Regions from separate parts of the Homo sapiens genome. Here region 1 is linked to region 2. Evidence: promoter capture Hi-C in 16 types of primary human blood cells and fetal thymus (Javierre and others, 2016). All regions are on one chromosome and are shown on one strand. Each heading gives the region's core, a stretch centred on a gene start or on the middle of the fragment in contact. The rest is flanking DNA. Distances are from core to core; before and after follow the strand shown. Region 1 overlaps PTPRF (protein tyrosine phosphatase receptor type F). Region 2 holds the start of DPH2 (diphthamide biosynthesis 2).

Evidence for each region. Contacts are between HindIII fragments. The CHiCAGO score rates a contact against its expected background, and 5 or more counts as called.
Region 1: a fragment that was not itself captured here is called in contact with the fragment with the promoter of DPH2 in region 2 in 1 of 17 cell types (total CD8 T cells); the score reaches 5.3 in total CD8 T cells.

Annotation. Positions count from the first base shown.
Region 1 is chr1:43,533,131-43,535,830 of GRCh38, reverse strand. The region is part of intron 1 of PTPRF (protein tyrosine phosphatase receptor type F); the gene reads right to left. Among named protein-coding and RNA genes, the nearest start is that of PTPRF, 3.6 kb to the right of the region's middle. RefSeq lists enhancers at 91-953, 1,900-2,399, 2,400-2,700. The HindIII fragment of the contact is 284 bases long and covers 1,261-1,544 here.
Region 2 is chr1:43,968,743-43,971,568 of GRCh38, reverse strand. It overlaps DPH2 (diphthamide biosynthesis 2), which reads right to left and starts at 1,559. Exons shown (of 6, transcript NM_001384.5): 1 at 1,247-1,559; 2 at 861-973; 3 at 380-603; 4 at 1-182. The coding sequence starts at 1,393. RefSeq lists enhancers at 1-216, 217-763, 1,249-1,528. The HindIII fragment of the contact is 12,483 bases long and covers 1-2,826 here.

The sequences.
Region 1 (2,700 bases), core at 153-2,652, 440 kb after region 2:
TACACTCCAGCCTGGGCAACAGAGTGAGATTCTGTTTCAAACCAAAGAGAAAAAGAAAGAAATCACACTGCTTGGCACCCAGGAAGGCCTCAGAAGGGGTGAAGTCCACAGTCATGTCCAATATCAAGAAAGAAAGCCCTTGGGGCCAACGCAGGGCTGGCCCCAGTAGGGTTCCCCATCATCTGCCAGGCCTGAAACCTGGCCCGGCAGTGGGTCAGGAGCAAGTCGATGATACCTAGGGGAATGCAGGCACAGCTGCCCTCTGGAGCAACCCCCAGAATGCCCCTGTGGCTGCACCAGGAACAGTCCCCAGAAACAGCAGCTAAAATACTGCTAAGGAGCTAAAACCAGAGTTCTCAGACCTAGAAGTCACGGTCACACAGAGACATGGTGCATCTGGACCACAGAGGCAGATGGTGGCAGAAAGAGCCTCAGTAGAAGCCCAGGGCCCAGGGAGGGTGGGAGGAAATGGAGAACTCAATACCCCAAGGCTGCCCCTTCTCAAAATTCCCTTCCACCTACCCCAAACATGGAGTCTCTTCTGCAGGCCTCACCTCTAGTCTTCTCAAGCCCACCCACCTGAAGGTCAAACACCTGAGCAACACAAACAATCCCATCGATAACAATAGGGGCAGGCACCCCCTTTGTTGAGCTCCTTGACCTGCTAATCTCAGCTCAGAATTGCAGCAACCTTAGGCAGACAGGGACCCTAACCTTAGCAGTCTATCTTCTCATTAAAGGCAACCTCATGTGACCCCTGATGGGAGGGTGGGTTTACACCATCCCAGTTGAGGATGATTACAGTAACTGCAAACACAGACAACAGTACTCACTAGATGCCAAGCCCTGTGCTACACACACTTTATGCATACTATCTTTAATCCTCATAACAACCCTTATAAGGCACGGGTTTTTATTATAATCATTTGACAAATGAGGAAGCGGATTCAGAGAGGTTAAGCCACTTGCTTAAAGTCACGCTGCTAGTAAACAGAGTCCAATCCTAGCAGTATAAAACTCGAGCTCTTCACCACTGTCGGAGGTTACTTTCTCTCGAGGTGCACAGCTCTATGGTCTCTCATACAGCTCTCGCTTCTCTTGGTCCGACCGACATTTCTCTCCCATACCCTCACACCAAAGCCCCTCCTTGATGTGCCTCCCCCACTGAGCCTCCAATGTCCCAAGTACCTCAAGGGCCACATGTCCAACTAAGAGCTTATTCTCTGCCCCTCCTCACCAAGTCCCTAACACAGTGAAGCTTCAGGGCCTTCAGTGAAGGCCCGCTCAACCACTCCGAGGAACCTGGACTCCTTCCTCTTCCTCTCCTTCACTCCCACATCCAATAAATCATTCTGTCCTGACAAGTGTACCTTCAAGATGGCACCATGCTACCACCTATCAAAGCCAGCATCTTCTCTCACCTTACTTACCTGCACCCTCTTGCCCCACTGGGCATCCTGTCTCCATCCTTTTCCCATAGCCACAGAGCATTTTCTGGAAACATAAACCTGACCACAGCACACTCCACCCTCCCTATCCAAGCTTTAAACCTTTGGTGTTTTCTCTCTGGGTTCTCAGAGTAAAATTACAGGTACTTAACAGGGCATTCAATGCCCTCTGTGATCTGCCACATCTCTGAATACTTCACAAGTGACAACACCTCCCAGTCTTTATTCATACTGGTTTTTATCTATCTCAAGTCCTTTCTCTCTTCTTCAAACTCCTACTCATCCCTCCAAACCTAGTTCACATCACTTCTTCTTGGTCTCCTCTGGGACTCACCTCACCCTGACCTCCGAACTCTCCCCCGTCTCTTGATGAACTCTTGCAATGTTCTAACCCAACTCAGAACCGCAGCTGCTTTAGTTGAGCAGATGCCTGAACCTTAGGGGTGGGCTGCCTCTTCTACATAGCTGTTAGTCCCAAAGGAAGAAAGGCAGCCGGGGCCGAAAGCGCCTACCCCGGGGTCTGGCACACAGTCAGCAATCAATGACAGGTAACTGAATTGCTTTTGCAATCCCATGGTGCAACCTGCTCCCCCAAGGACCACGAGCTTCTCGAGGGTAGGGCCCTGACTGCAAGCTGGAACCAAGCACACAGCAGTGTCAGTCACAAGGGAAGTGACTGCCACTGCTGACGATGCACTGCCACACAGTTCCCTTGGATTCTTACAACAGCCCTGGGACCCAGTCCGGGTTGGATTAGCTACCCCATTTTACAGGGAGTGAAATTGAGACTCAGGGAGAAAGGGGCCTCTTTGAGGCCTGAAGCTGGAAAGTGGAGGAGCCGTGGTGTGTATCACAACCCCTCTACTGCAGGAGGTCTGGGTCCCCTCCTCCCCGCCCCCAGGGAGGACCCTCAAAGCTAGACTCCCATAGTTCAGGCTGATGGAAAAAAGGGTGGACTGTGCCCAAACTGCCAGGGCTAGTATTTTGCTGCGTATCCATACACTTCCCAGTAAAAGATGTGTAGCTAGTTTCCGTTTGCTGCAGTCTAACTCTGCCCCGCCAAATTCCTTCACCAACACCCAACCACCCCCTCCTCTCTTGGCAGCCTTGTACACCAAGCCAACCCGCCCAGGGCACACAAAGCTGGATAAAGGGGAGGTATCAGTAGTTGCAAGAAGAAGGAAGAAAGGGAGGAAGGAAGGAAGGAATTATGTTAAAACAATTTTCTTGTTAAAGGAAAGAAAGAGGGAAG
Region 2 (2,826 bases), core at 310-2,809:
AGAGCCCCCTACATAGAAGGCACCATACTCTTCTAGACGCCTCCCTGGGGCAAGGGGGAAGCGGCGCCCAAAACGCTCTAGGGGCATAGGCTCTGGACTCAGGGAACCCACTGGTTGGGGAAAAGCTGGGCTGGAGACTAGCAGGTCCAGGTACCGTGGGCGCAGGAGAGTAGCCAAAGCCTCTGGAAGAGAAGGAGGTAGTGTTGAGGTTGGAGCCTGGCAAAGCAGGAGCTCCCTCATCCCCAGGAGACTAAATATGACCCAGTAGGCTGGGGCCAAGCCCATATCAAGAGTTCTATGGATGGTATATGGAAATGGGGAAATTAAGGCATAAAGCAGTTGGCTCACCCTTTGTGCATACACAGGCAAAACCCCTTACCCAGGGCATGGGCACAGGCCGGCTCACTCAGCAGCACCACAGGCGCTTTGGGGTCTGGGTTCTGGGCCTCAAAGGCCTTGACACAGAGCTCCAAGGCCACAGAACGTTGACGAAGCACGAAGGCAACGGGCAGTGGGCGGGCTGGAGGGCTTAAGCAGGCAGGGCCAAAATGTATGAGAGCCTGAGCTCCAGCTTGCTCAGCACCCAGCACATCCACGCAGCAGCTGCAGGGAAGATAGCATCAGAGAAATGGGTTCTCTTCTGGAGGCGAGTTGCTGTCATCACTGGGAAATGTGGTCAGTGAATAAAATGGTTTCATTAAAGGAAGACATTGTCAATGAAAGGAGCTAGCATCAGAAGGGGAGTCATTACCATTATCATCAAGGAGAAACACCACCATTGAAGGCAATCACTGTCATAGACGTAAAACCCCATGAGCCCCGGATCCCCAGGCCTGGCCCACCTAAGGCCAAGTTCACACCTGCCGTAGGCTGTGTCACCCAGAATGAACATCTTTGACCCTGTCGTCTCCTCCAGTCGTGCAGCCACAGCCACAGCATCTCCCAATAGCTGGTCAGGGAACTGCAAGGCAACCTATAAGCATAAACCATGGAGTCAGGGACAGCCTCTCTCCCACTGAGGGCTTCTTTAAAGCAATCTTCCAGGAGCTCCCACTCAACCTTCAAAGCCCCTGGTCCCAGAGGGGCACTCTGCCCCACGTAGTAGGTGGAAGGGAGGGATGGTCAACGCGCTGCGGACAGACTGATTCCCCCACCCTCTCGCCCTCACAAAATCCCCCAAGATCCGGATCCTCTGGGCGACCCATCCCGACAGAGGCGAGCCACCCTTCCCTAAGTCTGTCCTCACTCGTTCACACCCCAGGTCGCGGACAAATCCAGCGACTCGCTCCAGCTCGTACACTCCGTCCAGGTCCGGAAGAGGAGTAAGCAGTCCTGGCACCCCGGTCTCTCGCTGCAGCGCCGCCTCGGCAGGGCTGCTAAACATCGACTCCATGAGGCACAGCTTGGGTGGTGGGATGCAGCGGGGACCTCCCTGGGACAGCTTCGGGGCCTGAGTCCTCTAGAGCAGCCCTCAGGGGGTCAAAATCGCCTTGTGGGGGTAGGGGGAATCACAGTCGGCCTTCAGCCGGTGAGTATCCCCTTCAGCCATCCTAACTACTGTTTCTCCGCTACACGTGGGACTACCGGGGAGGTTACTTCCGGGTTTTAGAGGCGTGGCTGATAGCGATTTTGCCAATCCTAAGTCAGCACAGCTCCCGCCCTCCAATCCCCGCCACCGCCCCGCACAGAGAACCAATGTTCAGCCTGAGTCCCAGGCCAGCCGGAAGTACATCGAGGAAGGCGCGGAGCCTTGTGGGCATTGTAGTTCCCCTGGCCTCCTCTCGGGCGCTGGGAGTCCGGTTCAGCCGACCCGCGGCCATCAGGAACACCGACTTCACTGTTAAGCATTTCACGTGCACTCTATCCTCTGGGCAGTATCACTGCATAATTCTTTCATTCATTCATTTTTTTTTTTTTTTGACAAGGTCTCGCTATGTTGCTTGGACTGGAGTGCAGTGGCGCGATCTCCACAACCTTCACCTCCTGGACTGAAGCCATCCTCCCACCTCTGCCTCTTGAGTAGTTGGGGCTACAGGCGCACCACCACATCCAGCTAATTTTTGTATTTTTTGTAGAGACAGGTTTTTGCCATGTTGCTCAGACTGGTCACAAACTCCTGAACTCAAGCAATCCACTCATCTCGGCCTCCCAAAATGCTGAGAGTACAGACGTGAGCCACCGTGCCCGGCTACACTGCATAATTTTAAACTTGGTGCCGACCGGCTCGGGTTTGAATATTGTGCTTGGTCACTTGCTACTGAGTATCTTAGGAATGTCCCTATGCCCATTTCCTTATCTGAAGAATGGGGAGTTGTGACAATAGTACCTCTTAATAAGATTGTTGTGAGGGTCTAATTAATTTATATACAAAACTTTACAAAGTAGTTCTTTGGATATCGCATGCAGTGAAAGCATTTGCTATTTAATCAGCCAAATACTGAGCACTTACTGTACATTAGGCACTTCATTTTTAGTGTTTACAGTCTTTGGAGTAAGAATTATCCCGAGTGGTACCAAGGACATGACTGGCACATCCTCAAGTCACAGGAGATGCTCTGCACAGCTCCAGCCATCCTCAAACACTGCTGCTTCCCAGCAATACCCCCAGTGCATACCACATAGACCTCTACCCTCCAGCCCCTCACATCCCCTCTACTCCCCATGTTTACTTATATGCAAACACCCCCACATGCAACATCACTTGAAATGCCCTCCTTACATACCTCTGTCAGATACGGAAACTGAGGTTCAAAGAGACTACTTGTGTAATAAGACACTAATTCTGTGGCACAACCAGCATCAAACCCGGATCTATTGAACAGGGAA